4 separate regions of the Homo sapiens genome follow, and all the other regions are linked to region 2. Evidence: promoter capture Hi-C in human tissues and cell types (Jung and others, 2019). All regions are on one chromosome and are shown on one strand. The core of a region is centred on a gene start or on the middle of the fragment in contact, and the rest is flanking DNA. Distances in the headings are between cores, read along the strand shown.

Evidence for each region. Contacts are between HindIII fragments. The study calls those that stand out against the background at their distance.
Region 1: a contact is called between a fragment that was not itself captured here and the fragment with the promoter of PTTG1IP in region 2, in 3 of the 25 tissues and cell types used here (H1 embryonic stem cells, bladder and dorsolateral prefrontal cortex).
Region 3: a contact is called between a fragment that was not itself captured here and the fragment with the promoter of PTTG1IP in region 2, in 6 of the 25 tissues and cell types used here (IMR-90 fibroblasts, aorta, bladder and 3 more).
Region 4: a contact is called between the fragment with the promoter of KRTAP10-9 here and the fragment with the promoter of PTTG1IP in region 2, in 2 of the 25 tissues and cell types used here (liver and mesendoderm cells).

Annotation. Positions count from the first base shown.
Region 1 is chr21:45,116,089-45,119,999 of GRCh38, reverse strand. All of the region lies in intron 1 of ADARB1 (adenosine deaminase RNA specific B1), which reads right to left. Among named protein-coding and RNA genes, the nearest start is that of ADARB1, 43 kb to the right of the region's middle. The HindIII fragment of the contact is 3,865 bases long and covers 1-3,278 here.
Region 2 is chr21:44,871,750-44,875,540 of GRCh38, reverse strand. It overlaps PTTG1IP (PTTG1 interacting protein), which reads left to right and starts at 1,851. Exons shown (of 6, transcript NM_004339.4): 1 at 1,851-2,039. The coding sequence starts at 1,925. RefSeq lists enhancers at 894-1,571, 1,729-2,229, 2,230-2,730 and a silencer at 1,488-2,137. The HindIII fragment of the contact is 14,261 bases long and covers 1-3,791 here.
Region 3 is chr21:45,099,495-45,103,168 of GRCh38, reverse strand. All of the region lies in intron 1 of ADARB1 (adenosine deaminase RNA specific B1), which reads right to left. Among named protein-coding and RNA genes, the nearest start is that of ADARB1, 27 kb to the right of the region's middle. The HindIII fragment of the contact is 4,715 bases long and covers 1-3,674 here.
Region 4 is chr21:44,625,249-44,628,927 of GRCh38, reverse strand. It overlaps KRTAP10-9 (keratin associated protein 10-9), which reads right to left and starts at 1,835. Exons shown (of 1, transcript NM_198690.3): 1 at 550-1,835. The coding sequence starts at 1,756. The coding sequence ends at 878. All of the region lies in intron 1 of TSPEAR (thrombospondin type laminin G domain and EAR repeats), which reads left to right. RefSeq lists an enhancer at 2,215-2,910. The HindIII fragment of the contact is 22,066 bases long and covers 1-3,679 here.

The sequences.
Region 1 (3,911 bases), core at 97-2,596, 240 kb before region 2:
TGCAAAGCTTGGTAATGCGCCCACGTGGGGGCCACAAAGTCCTCATCCTCAGAAACAGCATTTCGTGCGTTACCAATGACAGCTTTATTTATAATGGATTTCAATTACCAACACTCTTGCTTTTATCATTTCGATGTCCATTTTCTCATGTTCACAGCAGTTTAATGTGGGCTGTCTGGGTATATACCACGATGACAATTCATAGTTTCAGGAGCCATGATTTTTCAACAACTTATAAGTACCCTAAGTCATCTCCGTCTTTATTTCGAAACAGATGTATAGAACCTCCTCTAAATTCTGATGCAGCAGTAACATTTTATTTGTTGGTGATGTGCTGATTAAGAGTATATGAAATTTAACTAACTTGCAACACACCATCAAGGCAAGTGTAACAAAGTTACCCAGCTATTTTTAAGTTTATGGCCACACTCTTACATAGTAAAGAACAACACGTCTCATAAGAACTTCTGTATCAAAAGTACCTAAACTGGTTCATTTAATTTCATCCCGATTCTTTGATAATGTTGAGTGATATTTCCACTGGAGAGCAAGAACAGCTACTGGTAAAGGTGACCAAGGCACTAATTTTGCCACTGAGAGTGATCTAAAAAGGCTTTTAGGCTAGGCACAGTGGTGTGCTCAGCACTTTGGGAGGCCAAGGTGGGAGGATGGCTTGAGCCTAGGAGTTCGAGACCAGTCTGGGCAACACGGCAAGACCCCACCTCTACAAAAAATTTAAAAATTAATCAGTCAATGTGGCACGTGACTGTGGTCCAAGCTACTCAAGAGGCTGATAACAGGAGTATTGCTTGAGCCCAGAAGGTGGAGGCTGCAGTGAGCCACGATCACACTACTGCACTTCACCCTGGGTGACAGAGCGAGACCCTGCCTCTAAATTAATTAATTAAAAGGGCTTTTAATTAAAAATGGTGATAAAGTACACCATATCTTCTCTCCATTCTTCCCAGAGCTCTGTTAAAATGTCAGAAAAGGTACTTTTTGGTGGTGAATGAACCATAATAGTGCACGGTGCTAAAAATTTACAGAGGGATTTAGCAGAACACAAGAAAGCCTGCCAGGGCTTTTAGGGCATAAGGCAGACGAAAGCAGGTTGATGCGAGAGAGCAGAGGAAACTGCAGAGCAAGACAACAGAGGTGAGGGGTCTTCCCAAGAAGCAGGAGCCATAGGGAACGCTTTTATTCCTGGGCTGAAACCTGAGAATCGCTCTCCAAAGAAAGCCTGAGGTTTTCTAAGGGGTGATCCCAATATGGGCACGCGGGCTGGAAGAGAAGCAGATCCGGGTTTAGGGTAACGAAAAATCAAACCGTCAGGACATGAAGCCCAGGGAGGGAGAGAAGGAGAGAGTAGAAGATGTTTACCTGCAGTAGAACAAGGATCAAACGGATATCCAACTTCTCATTACCAACACTAGACTCTGGAAAATAATAGAGAATATTTTCTGATTTCAAAAGGAAAATTATACGATCCTAGAATTCTAGACCCTACCAAATTATCAATAAGTATGAGAACAAAGTAATTGCATGTTTGAACATTACGTGCAAAAACCCAAGAAGTCTGTCAGCCATCCATTCTATAAGGAAGTGAATTAAGAAGTCTGTCAGCCATCCATTCTATAAGGAAGTGAATTAAGAAGTCTGTCAGCCATCCATTCTATAAGGAAGTGGATTAAGGAGGTGCTCCAGCAAAACAAAAATAGAATCCAAGAAACCAACACCATGGGATAGGAGAAACCATGGCAACTGAGGCAGCTAGAAACAGCGGACACCTAAAGAGAAACTGGGAGTTCCATCTGAATATTCTCCTTTTATTGGCAAAGGTTTGGTGAGGCAGAATTACATTTCATACCACTTGGTTCTATGGCAAAATATACTATCATAATACTATAAATGTTACTTTTCTTATATTAAAATGTTTAGACTACACTTGCAGGAAAAGCACAGGGAGCCTAATGATAGATGGGAAACACTACAAATGTTTTAAGCCTTGTCAATATAAATCTCATCAAAACTCAGAGTGTGAAGGCACTGTTGACTTCCACATGAACTCACAAACAGAAAAGTTAAAGCTATAATGGTGACTACAAGAAGAACTTAAGAGAAGAAAACACAAACTGTACATTGTTTACCTCTGGAAACGGGGCATGGGGTGGGGAGGGAGAAAGAGGAAATCTCCAACTTAATTTATACCCATTCATGAGCTGCAATGTGTTTTTTACCATGTGCTGGTATTACTTCCATTTTTTAAAATAGTTACATTAAAAGGGCCCCCTTATCAATAGCTGATCCATTAAATAACTGCAGTACATCTATAGGACAGAATAATATGTTCTTGTAACAAGTGAAGTAGCATGAGCATTGCGTTAGTTATATAAAGTCAGAATTTTAAAGAAGCTTTTTTTTTTTTAACTGTGAAAGAACAAAGATAAAGTGTCACAGTCCTACGAAGAGAACGGCACTACCTGTACTGACATGCAGGATGTGACGGGACAGCTGCGTTATAGAGAGATGTGCACAGAAAACCCCTGTGTATCTCAGAAATCCCATATACATAACAGAAACTCCTCATCTATTATATATGCCAGAATCCAGTGCTGACACAAACTAGTGGGTACGTACCCTTCCATATTTTTCCTATGTACACACACACAACATTTTGTAAGCCTAAAAAGCTGGCACAAAAAGCAAACCAACTTCACAAGGACAAGCCAGAGAGTCCTTGGGGGATGTCCTCCCAGGAAACTCAAAACAGCAGCGGCTAGGTCTCCCTGGAGAAGGAGGCTGGGAAGAGCATCTGATAGAACTGCTCCCTTCATCCTTCGAGGGAGCAATCCAGGAAATGCAAGGCTGTCTACTTCACATGGTTTCCTGAGGATATGGGTAGAAAACATTTCCAGTAAAAGCTTTACTAAAATGTTATACAGTGAAAATTAAAATACAAACCATTCCTCCATGCGCCAGTGTCATCTGCTAATTTGTACAACATCTTGTTTCAATGACCTGAGAGGCCTACACAAATAGGTAGAGTAACCACAGTATATCAATTATGCTGAGAAAAGAAAAAAAAAACATATACATGAAAAAAGACACAGATATTGTTTGGCCATGTCCCCACTCAAATCTCATCTTCAATTGTAGTTCCCATAATCCCCACGTGCTGTGGGAGGGACCCAGTGGGAGGTAATTGTATCATGGGGGCAGTTACCCTCATGCTGTTTTCGTGATAGTGAGTGAGTTCTCACGGGATCTGACGGCTTTGTAAGGGGCTTTTCCCCATTTTGCTGGACACTTCTCCTTGCTGTTGCCATGTGAAGAATGATGTGTTTGCTTCCCCTTCCACCATGATTGTAAGTTTCCTGAGGCCTTCTCAGTCATGCTGAACTGTGAGTCTGTTAAACCTTTTTCCTTCATAAATCACCCAGTCTTTGGTATGTCTTTATTAGCAGTATGAGAACACACTAATACAGATACAAAGGAAACATACAAAATAATAACAAAAGTTGCTTCTATGCAAAGGGACTAATATGTCTCTTCCTAGTTTTGCATTTCTGCAAAGTCTGCACAGTCTGTAATAAGCATACTGTTTCTAAATAAAAAATTAAATCTTTCAGAAGAAGCTTGGCAATGTAGAGTTTTCTCCAAAGACTTAGCAGCCGAGGCAAGGGAAGGCACGCAGGGGTGCTGCTGCGCAGCAAGCACAGGCGCAGGCCCTACCCAGGCCAGCCCCACCCTGGGGCTGAAGATGGAGAAAAGGCCAATTCCAAGACTGATCCTGTTCAGAAGACAAAAATGAGCTCAAGCAGCTGTTCCTGCCACTGTAACCTGAGGAATTTCGCCCTGGGGACACTGAGAGAGGCACAGCAGATACCACCTTAATCAGCATCCCCGAAAGC
Region 2 (3,791 bases), core at 602-3,101:
GATGGGTCCTCCCTGAAGGAGAAAGACTTGTTTTGGATGGACGATTGCCTATGAGTTCTCTTAAGTGACAAAAGACTGTAAGGGAAAATCTGGTTACTCAAGAAGAAAGTTTAGACATGTCAAATTGAACTCAGCTCCAGAGCCTGGCCAGTTTTAAGGATTACAAATTTTGCTTAAGCCACGATTCGCTGCTTCTTTTCAAAGAGAAACTGCTTTCCCCTTCTCCAAATCTGAAGGACAAAAAAGGTTGCAAACTTTAGCAAGACGAACAAAACCTTAACCTCGAAGGATAGTGTTAACCACACACCTGCAAACAGCTGACTCTTTGGAGAAATAACAAACGAAACTCTTGCCTTAAAACCAAGCCTCAACTCCAGCCCTATCAGGTGTGGACCTGGGTAGGCGGAACAGAGTCTGAACCTCAGCCCTGGGAGGCTGCCAGAGACCCCGGCCAGGTTCCCAGGCGGTCCGGTGAACCAAGGCCGCTCCGCGGGTGCCAGCGCTCCGAGTGCCAGAGAAGTGGCTCGGATCACAAGAGGCTGGCTTCGGAGCCATCTGCAGGCGCCCAAATCCCAACCTAAAATCACCACAGGGTCAGAATCTAATGTAAGGGGGGGTTATTCAAAGGCAGTTGGAGGCTGGCCCACCCGGAAACACCGGCTCCAGAGGAATGGAGTCCGCCCTCGGAAGCGGGGAGGGGAAGGGTGCCCTCGGGCAGGCAGAGGCGGAGGCTTTTAGCAGGACCGCGGCGTCCTTCCTACGAGGTGGGCGCAGTCCTCGCGTTTGATGGACGACGGGCAGTGCCTGCTTCAGGGAAGGGTGCGGCAGTCACGGTTTCCCGTCTTCTGGTCTAAGCAGTGCAGAAAACAGGGAAGTTCATCTACAAGGGTCATGAACTAAGAAGGCAGGAGGTTTCTGTCCCCGGCACCGGCGAATCCCGGACCCGAGAAAGGAGCTACGGGCGCACAGAAGCGGGCGGCCCCGGCTCTCGCGGGGCTTAAAGCGCGCAGTGTGTTCGGGTTCACACCTCTAAATGTATTTTTGCCATTTCTTAAGTAGCCTTAAAAATGTCCGTCACTATTTAGTCCTTTTATCAACCGAGGGGCCCGGAAGGCCGCAGCGAGGGCGTCGGCGAGAAGCCATGGAGGAGAAACGGCGCTTCTCTCGGGAGTTTAGGTGGCAGCTTCAGCAGCACACGTTTCAGCCCATTCTGGGGCCGTTTCTAGTGTGGTTAACGTACAAAAATAAACAAATCCCCTAAAAGTCCCACGCGGACATCGGCGGGAGCCCAGGGCCGGACGCCGCGGTGTGGAGCGAGGGCGCCGGCGCGGACTATGAGGGCCCACCGCGCCTCGTCCAGGGCTCACTTAAGAGCAGCGTGAGCAGCGCTTGGGACCGCCGTCCGGGACGCCCGCAGCCCTTTAGGATGGAGGCCACCGTGACCTCCGCCACCGAAGCACCGCGCTCCCCTAGTCCCCTCAGCCGGTCGCCGTTCCCCGCCGCGCAGGCGCAGGAGCCGCGGCGAGCCCCTCGGTCACGCCTCGCCCCTCGGTCACGCCTCGCCCCTCGGTCACGCCTCGCCCCTCGGTCACGCCTCGCCCCTCGGTCACGCCTCGCCCCTCGGTCACGCCTCGCCCATCCGCGCCGCGCAGGCGCACTGAGCCTCAGCCGCTCTCCTCGCTACCAGGCTCCTTTCCTCTATCGCGCAGGCGCACTGAACCTCAGCCGCGCCGGGAGGCGAGCCCGTTGGCGAGGGGCGGGGCAGATGGCGAGGGAGCGGGGCGAGCTGCTTTTTGAGGCTGCGCACTCGCATGGCCCCACCTCGCAGGTCCACTTCCGGCGCCGCGGCTGTTCCGGGCGGAGACCGCTTGTGCTGGAGTCGGAGTTGTAACGCTCCACTGACTGATAGAGCGACCGGCCGACCATGGCGCCCGGAGTGGCCCGCGGGCCGACGCCGTACTGGAGGTTGCGCCTCGGTGGCGCCGCGCTGCTCCTGCTGCTCATCCCGGTGGCCGCCGCGCAGGAGCCTCCCGGAGCTGGTGAGGGCGCCGGGGCGGGCGGGGCCGCGAAGGGGGCGGGGCGGCTGGTGGGTCCAGGTCGGGGTCGGGGTCGGGGTTTCGGCCAGGGCGCTGGGCTCGGCGGGCGGCCTGGGCCCACGGTCGCAGGCAGCGCCCCGACGGAGGCTCCTCGAGGGTCACGCCCGTTTGGCGGCCGCGGGAGCTGCCGTCGCGGCTGGGGCGCGGGCAGGGGAAGAGCCGTCTTTGTCTTTGTCTTTGTTTTGTCCAGTCGCTGCGGCCGCTCCTCGCGCGTGGCCTCGGGTTGGCCCTCGCCCGGCAGGCGGGACGCTTGGCACCTGCGGCCTCCCTTAGCCTCACTGCGACCCCAAACAGCACTCCTCGGGTTCGATCCCGAGCCGGGAAGCCGGCTCACGACGTGTTCGAGGTCGCACAGCTGGTCGGGGGCAGGCCGGGATGGCGGCCGCAGGCCCCTGCAGGGTGATGGGGCCGCGGCCGGTGTGTCTCTACAGCCGCCGGCGTTCACGCCGCCACTCCCTCCCGGCCGCAGTTCCACGCACAGCAGCGAACGCTCGCACTTATGCCTTAGAAAGGAAGGCGTCCCCAAAGCCAGGCTGTAGCATCTGATTTTGAAGCAAGCTGATTGCGGTTCTACGCTGTCCAGACGCGCAGGTGGCATTCTTCATCGTTTATCCCGTCTGCACCAGGCCCTGCGGCCACAGTGGTGACCGACAGCCAGAGCTCCTATCCAAGAGGAGCTGAGTCCCCGGGAGGCTGACCAAGAAAGAAGCAGTGAGGGCGCGGGGGCTGGGGGAGGAAAGTGCATGACAGGAGACTCAGAGTTCCAGAAACCGGCAGTGTTTATAGAGGGTGGCTTCCTGTGGGGCTGGGCCTCCAGGGCCTGGTGGGCTGCGGGAAAATCCAGCAGGTTCTAAGCTGGAGAGTGTCATGGTTGGACCTGTTTCACAATGTCATGCTGGCTTCCGTGTGTGGAGTTTCCAGGTGACCACTAGTGGTGGGGAATAGTGCCACCTTAACTTCAGTTTCCTGACCCTTACAATTAGGGTTGACCTGGGCCCAGCTTGAGGGGCTAATACTTTTCTCAGCTCTTGTTAGCCCAGGCTCTGTCAGTGTCTGTTTAGCATAGTAGAGCACCTTTTCTTTTTGTGACCTTATGGAATGTTTATTCCGATGCAGGATTATTTGTGTTTCTTCTTACCTGCCTCCAAGTGTGCTTAGGGTTTGTGACGTTAGCAATGCAGCTGCCTTGAAGTTTGTTAGTCAAGGAGGCCAGTGGGACTGTACTGGGAACTTTTGGCCCAGATTGAGTTCTAAGCGCAAATGTGCAGTGAATACGTTTCCACAAACAGAATGGGCGTCTGCAGGCAGAGTGTGTGATTCACTGGCAACTGTATCAGTGGCTCGGGGGTGTGTTTGCTTGCATTGTGAAAGCGGGAGTGTCAGGAAAACAACCATGAGGTTTTGTTTGACTGTGATTCCTCCTGCTCTGCACTGCTGAAGGGTGCAGAGATGGGTGTGGACGAGTGGAGTGGACAGTGTGGGAATTAATCCGGAACTGCCATTCGGTGTGTCAGCTGAAAAGCCATTCGGTGTGTCTGCACTTGGAGGCTGCACTTGCTTGCTTCCACTTATGGTAATCACCAAGTCCTGGTGGGTGGACTGTTGTTTCTCTCACTGGGGACCCCTTGGAATAGGAAGAATGGTGCCGTGTCATGTTGGCATTCACTGCCCAGGCGCCTTTGGTGTCTGCGTGCC
Region 3 (3,674 bases), core at 903-3,402, 230 kb before region 2:
ACGTGACATTGAGATGTCATGGCTCCCTAGGCCCCTCTTGGCTGTGAGTTTCTCAGACTCTTCTTGGTTTTTGACTGTTGAGGAAGCTGTCCCTCAGCTGGGATCTGTCTGATGTTTTTCTCATGGTACAGGAAGGGACTGAGTTTGGGGATGAAGCCCCCAGAGGTGAAGGCCCACTGTCACTCCACTGTATCAGGCACACCCTGTCACCGTGACTGACCACTGTGAGGCTGACCTGGCCCCTGCTGGGTTGAGCCCCCCGCCCCACTTCCATGCTGTCCTCTCTGGAAGGAAGTTGCTCTGCACAGCCCTTGCCTTGGGGTAAGGGTTGTGCTCCACCTCCTGGAAGACACAGCAGATACAGCAGATGCAGAGATGATCTGGAATTGTGCTGGAAAAGGAGCTTTGTCTTTTCTCCTCATTTATCAGTCATTTATTTATGTCAGTCTGGACTCATGGATATTTATTTATCTCTGGGCTATAATCCAATACTACTTTGTTTTGTTGTAGAAACTGTTCCAGCTTTGGCCACTGGGAGCTCTTTCAGTTGGCTCCTGGGTCCCTTTGACACCACCCATTGATGTGGGTGTGGTTATGTTTGTTTCTCGGCATTTCCTTGCCATTTCCTTGGCATTCCTGGCACTTGTGTTATTTCCTGCCCAGTCCTAGAATCAGCTATTTCTCCAATAAAGAATGCTCACTCTATTTTTTATATGCTGTTTTATGGAACATGCAGCTACATGTTTAAAAAATATAGTTGTGGTTACAGCTGGTTTTGCTGACTTGAATCCATCCCCTTCTTTCTGACAACAGCACCCCAAATGTGCTGAGGAAAGTGCCTTCTCCCATTGAACTGCCTGCGTAATTACTTCCAAGAAATCAAAAATTATTTTAAACCCTTGTGCTGATAACAGACAGACACCAAGGTAAGGAAGATAATTATAGAAATTCTGATTTAGAATTAAAATAAGCACATTGGCCAGGCATGGTGGCTCACATCTGTAATCCCAGCAACTTGGGAGGCCGAAGAGGGAGGATCGCTTGACGCCAGGAGTTCAAGTCTAGCCTGGGCAACACAGCAAGACTCCGTCTCTACAAAAAATAAAAAAAGTTAGCTGGGTGTGGTAGTGCGCCTGTAGCCCCACAGTCCCAGCTACTCAGGAGGCTGAGGTGGGAGGATCACTTGAGCCTGGAAGTTGAGGCTGCAGTGAACCATGATTACCACTGCACTCCAGCCTGAGTAACAGAGTGAGACCCTGTCCCAAATAAATAAATAAGCACAAAATATGTTCACTTTAAAATAAACCATGTCTGGCAAAAGTATGTCCACCACTGTAACTACTGACCCCTTACACAATTTTAAGCAGCACTCATCTCCCACGTAATAGTCAGCAAGACTGGTGTGCTAACATACCCAGCATTCAAAAACTCCAAAAGCTTGTGTATTAAGTATACACTATCCAGAAAATTTCACATGCTTTCTGCTTCAGGAAAGAAATATTAAAGCTCTACGATGGTGAAGTTCATTACAATTTCCAAAAGCAAAAGGATCACTGATTACTTAAGAAGCAACGCTTCCTTTAAACTCCAGTACAGGAGGTAAATGTTAAACGCTAGCAAATCTTTTGAGAAGCATTAAAAAAGGTTTTCGTTACATCACAGGTATACTTAATCATAACGTCAAAGCCTCTAAAACAAAAACTCTGTGCACGCACTTCAGGAGTTTTTCCCACGTGCCGCGAAAGAAGGGAGCCTAGGTGTCTGGAGAGATCCTCTGCACCCAGCACTCGGCGACTGGCAGCGGGCATTTCAGCACCTGCTAAAGCCCGCTGGGCAGCTTGGCAGCGCCAGGCGCGGGGCTGCGGGGACACGGCCCGCCCGCGCGCAGGGCACAGCGAGCACGTGAGCGCAGAGCCAGCTCCGGAGCGCTACGGCGCGCGTGGCGGCACACCTGCTCCCCGAGGCTGATCGTTAACAGCCGTGGGCAGGGGTTGGGCCAGGGTACAGCTGTCAGGACCTCACTGGACAGGACCGGAGAGGACCCCGCGTAACCGCGGAACAGACACTCCCGGCAGCGGCCGCCGCCGCGGCACTGCTACGGGACGAGCCGGAGCGCTTGGCCATGGCGGCCCGATCCGCACTGGCGCTGCTGCTGCTGCTGCCAGTCCTGCTCCTGCCGGTGCAGAGCCGCTCAGAGCCCGAGACCACCGCGCCCACCCCTACCCCAATCCCGGGTGGCAACTCGTCAGTGAGCAGGCCCCTGCCCAGCATCGAGCTCCACGCCTGCGGCCCATACCCCAAACCAGGCCTGCTCATCCTGCTGGCCCCGCTGGCCCTGTGGCCCATTCTCCTGTAGGGACGCCCAGCCAGCCACCTCTAAGTCGCCGCTGGGACTGGCCTGCCCCATTGAGCAACAGAGACGCTTGACAGCCGCCCGCCTCCATTCCTTGACTTCACCCAGAAATGGGTCCAGAAAACTGAATCCCACCAGCACTGGTTTGGAGCAACCGGACACCGAGGTTTCACCTCCAGGGATTCCATGAAGAGCCTCAATGGAGATGCCACATCCTACTGAGTTAAAGATGGGCTGAGGAACTTGGGTACCCACAAGTCTGCCTTGGGAATCAAAAGAAAATATTTACCTTTAGTTTGGTTCATTAAATGCATGAAGTCAAAATATGACCAGGTAGTGTGCGAGGCCTCCTTGTTCTGGGTAGAGCTGGGAAGGGCAGGGATGGCAAGCGCTCCCTAAGTCTGCCACCTGTAGCCTTGCAGAGTTCTCTAGGAAATGCACTGCTGCTCTGGTGTTCAGTGCAATGCAGTATTTGACTTGGGAACAGTGACTGACGGGGGCCAGTGCAAGCCTAGTTAGTAAGCCCAGCCTGTCTACTCCACTCTCACCCACACATCCCCATTCTTCCAAAGAACCTTGTAGCTATCATTTCAACCTAGTTCCAAAGAGCAGACATACATAATCTCACATAACCTGCAATGCTGCTTTTTAAATTTCTGTATATGTTGAATAATTTTTACAAGTTAAAAGTGACCTTTTTAAACATATATTTTTAAATCTTTAACACGGGGGGAGAAAAAGGAAAGTTTTGGAAAGGGAAGACTAGAAGCTTGGCTGGTTCAGTTCACACAAGTTTTACACTATTTCTATCCATGTGTTATCTTTATAAATCCACATTTGGAATACTTCCCATATAAATATCTTTAGATAGAAACTGAGACTAAGCCTTGAGTAGCTTCTGGAAAGTAACCCCAACACCACCACCAAGTTGCACACACACCAATGTCCAGCATCTAGGAGGGCTTCAGGGCCCCCACAGCCCAAGACGTGCCAGCCCAAGAGAGCACTCCCAGAAACTCCAGATCCAGCCAGCCTCAGAACAGCATGTGAACACTTCACACGGGCTTACTGTGCATGTTTTGGATTGAGCCTTGTGTTCAGTAATTATGCTTGGATTTACATAACTTAAAATGACATATTTTAACATAAATTGTAAATTTTTATTTTTTATTTTTTTGAGACAGAGTCTCGCTCTGTCACCCAGGCTGGAGTGGTCCCCTCCCAAGGTTCAAGTGATTCTCATGTATCAGCCTCCTGCTCGCTGGGATCACAGGTGTGCGCCACCACACCCAGCTAATTTTTTTTGTACTTTTAGTAGAGA
Region 4 (3,679 bases), core at 586-3,085, 250 kb after region 2:
CACAGGGAGCTCTGGAGACCACGTGTCTGTTCTCTGCTCTGCATCCCAGCGGCAAGCCCAGGGCTGGAGCAGGGGCCATCCCTGAGCGTCTGTGAGTGTCCACAGGAGGCCAGGATGGCCAAGCTCTCTCCGAGTGGAACTCCTGAGTGCTGGGACAGCTGGAGCCCAAGTCTCCACACCCACCCCCCACCGCCCGTCTCCCACCTCCCAGCACAGCTGGGGCCTGCCACCCCCCGGGACAGCCCCAACCCTTGCCATGGGAAGGAGCTGCTTCTACCCACAGTGAGTGGGGCATTAGCCTGAGTCACGTGGTGTCTGTGGGACTCAGCCAGTGAACAAGGCTTTTGGGCCCCACAGGACCTGGGAGGGGAGCCGGACAGCAGAACGTGCCACGAGGTGGACAGGAGCTTCCAGGTGTCACACAAGAGCCCCCCGAGGCCCCCCAGCTGGGGAAGTAAAGAGATCCACGGGGCCCAGCCCCCCAGAGCCAGGCCAGGCCCCACTCTGCCCCCTCCCGCCCTGGGTGCGGAGAGTCAGCACGGAGTCAGCTGGGGCCGCAGACGCTTTATTGGTGCTCAGGGGCAGAGGGTGACGCTGCTGGGGGTGAGACCCGGGTCAGGAGGGCCCGTCCCCAACCAGCGACCAGCGGAGGGTTGTGGTCTGCAGCCAGGAAGCACCGTGAGGAGAAGCCAGGGCTCGCCTGCCCGGGGGGGAGGTCAGGGAGGAGCCAGTGAGCATCTGAGACCCCGGGGCTGGGCGGCTGTGGCTGGGGCTGCTCCTTCTGTGTTGAGCTGTGCTGAGGCTGGGTGGGCTGGGAGGTCCAAGGACTGGCAGGGAGGTGGGGCCTGAGCCCGGCTGGCCCTGGGGGACATGACCGTCAGCAGCTGGACTTCTGGCCTGAGGAGAAGCTGTAGCAGGCCGGGCGGGAGCACACAGGGCGGCAGAGAAGGGACACACAGGAGGCCTGGCGGCAATAGCTGGGCTGGCGGGAGGAGGTGGGGGCACAGCAGGAGGAGACGGGCACGCAGCAGGCGGGCCTGCACACAGGGCGGCAGAGGAGGGACACAGAGGAGGAGGGTCTGCAGCAGGAGGTGGTGCAGCAAGCCGGCTGGCAGCCAGACTGCTGGCAGCACAAAGAGGAAGCCCCAGAGCAGACAGGCACACAGCAGATGGGTTTGCAGCAGACAGGCTTACAGCAGACAGGCACACAGTAGGACTGCTGGCAGGGGGAGGAAGTGCAGCAAGCTGGCTGGCAGCTAGACTGTTGGCAGCATGAATAGGAATCCTCAGAGCAGGTGGGCGCACAGCACACAGGTTTGCAGCAGACGGGCACACAGCAGGCCGGCTGGCAGGAGGAAGAGGCACAGCAAGCTGGCTGGTAGCTAGACTGTTGGCAGCACGAAGAAGCCCCACAGCAGACGGGCACGCAGCACACAGGCTTGCAGCAGACGGGCACGCAGCAGGCCTGCTGGCAGGGGGAGGAGGTGCAGTAAGCCGGCTGGCAGCTAGACTGCTGGCAGCACGAGGGCGTGCAGGAGCTGGTGCAGCCTGATTGGCAGGGGCTGGGCTCACAGGTCACCTGGCAGCAGGGGCTGGATACACGGCTCACTGGGGTGCAGACCAGGGTCAGGCAGGGGGCCGGGGCGCAGCAGCTGGTGGCGCAGCAGGGGGGCTCACAGCAGCTCTCTGGGCAGTCGTCCACCTGCCAGGAGTCGGAGTAAGCGCTGGAGCGGATGGACATGGTGGACGCGGCCATGCTGGGGTGGGGAGGAGGTGAGCTGGGGGAGGTGTAAGTGAGTGTGTGAGTGTGTCAGTGAGTGAGTTTGTGAGTGTGTGAGGTTCTTGGGGCTCTCAGGCTTTTATACCCCTCCTGGCCTTGTTGTTCCAGGGCCCACAGCTTCCCCTTCCTTGTTGCTGAGAGGCGGCGTCTGCCATGATTAGGGATGTTTGTTTGCTGGTGACATTGCCCAGCTCACAAATCTCCTGTCACACCTGGGCTATAGTCTGTTGCATGTGGAACCTCAGGGGCAGGAGTTGGGGTGGGCCTGATCCCAGCTGGGTTCTGGAGGCAAGGACGGCTGTGGGCGTCTGGTGGGTGGGATGTGGGTGGGATGTGCCTGGGGCCATCTTTGGTTGCTGGGGCATCGTCCAGCCACTGGCCCCAGCAGCCTCAGGACACGGGCTTCCTCTGCAGGAAGCCGGCCCTTAGGAATTATTTCCTGTGGTGCAAACTCCTCCTCTAGTATGGTCCTTCCCCTGCTGTAGGACACAGGACTCGCCAATTTCTAATCCCCATGGCCTCTGTGCCTCCTGCCCTCTGTTCATTGCCCACCCTGTCCTTTGCTTGGGAGGCAGCAGGACTCTGTTCCAGGGCAGGGATCGTGGGCTCAGCCCACTCCTTGCTGAGGCACAATGGCAGCATCGTGGGCTGTGGTTTCGGGTTCTGAACCCGTGAAGTAGCTGTGCTAGGCAGCAGGCAGCCGCCAGCCCTCGCCACTGCTGGAGCCATCTCCTCCGTGTGCCCTGCACTGCAAGCATCTTTTTCTCACCAGCCCTGCCCACAGGCCCCATCACACACCCCCAGGTCAGCCACAGGCAACTCTCACGGCTGCATGATCTTTGATGATGAATTGTTATCACCACAGGGCATGATGAAGTCCCGAGCTTCTTGCCTTATAAAATGGCCCTGATCACTTTCCAGGAACATTGCTACCCAGCAGCTAATTATAATATTGATTGTGATTTCACATTTTTATTTAAAAATTCAAGTACACATACGCATATTTCATTATAAAGTAAGACGTATTACACGATGTTGAGTAGAACGTCTTTGTTGCTGTGAATCTGGCAAAGCTGGAAACGGCCTCTCATTCTAAAAATAATGCTAACATTCTGGGTCAGACCTGTCCCCACAGGGTTTCTAAAATAAGACAGAAGTTGACCAGCTATGGCCAGCTGCCACACCCCACCAGTGCTGCCCAGGTTGTAAGAAGGAGGCTGTGGAGGCAGGGGTGGCCCTTCAGTCTTACGCAAAGTGTGGTGTCCCAGGGAGAGAGTCCTCCAGCTACTGTCCCTGGGGGTGTCTCTAAAGTGGGTCCTCACTGAAGAGGCAGAAGCAGCTGGTAGAAGCACAGGATCACTGGAGCAGCCGGAGAGAAGGTGCAGCAGTGGCCAGTGAGCCCCACAGTGGTGGCCCTGCACATTCCTTCCCCCGTCCCCATCACTGAAGAAATTAGAGCCCAAAACAGGGAGAAGGGGAGCAAGGAAAGAGAGGCCATGCCGCTCCCCGCGGCCTTCCCCGAGGTCCACTCAGACTTGCATGTGGGAACGCTGGGGATAGGACTGGGTTTCAGACAGGATAGAAAAGTTTTGAACTGGTCCATTTTGGGCTATGGATTTGGTTCTGCTCTTTCAGGCCATAGCTTTATGATACGCTTCAATCATAGATAATTCAAGTCCCATTATCAATATTTCTTTTTGTAAAAAAAAATTTTTTTTGTAGAGACCAGAGTCTTGCTATGTTGCCCAGCTGGTCTTGAACTCCTGGGCTCAAGTGATCCTCCTGCCTTGGCCTCCCAAATTGCTGGGACTACAGGCGTAAGCCACCGTGCGTGGCCCATCATCAGTATTTCTGTGCCAAGTCTCCTAACTTTTCATGCTCATTTTCTTTGCTGTGCTC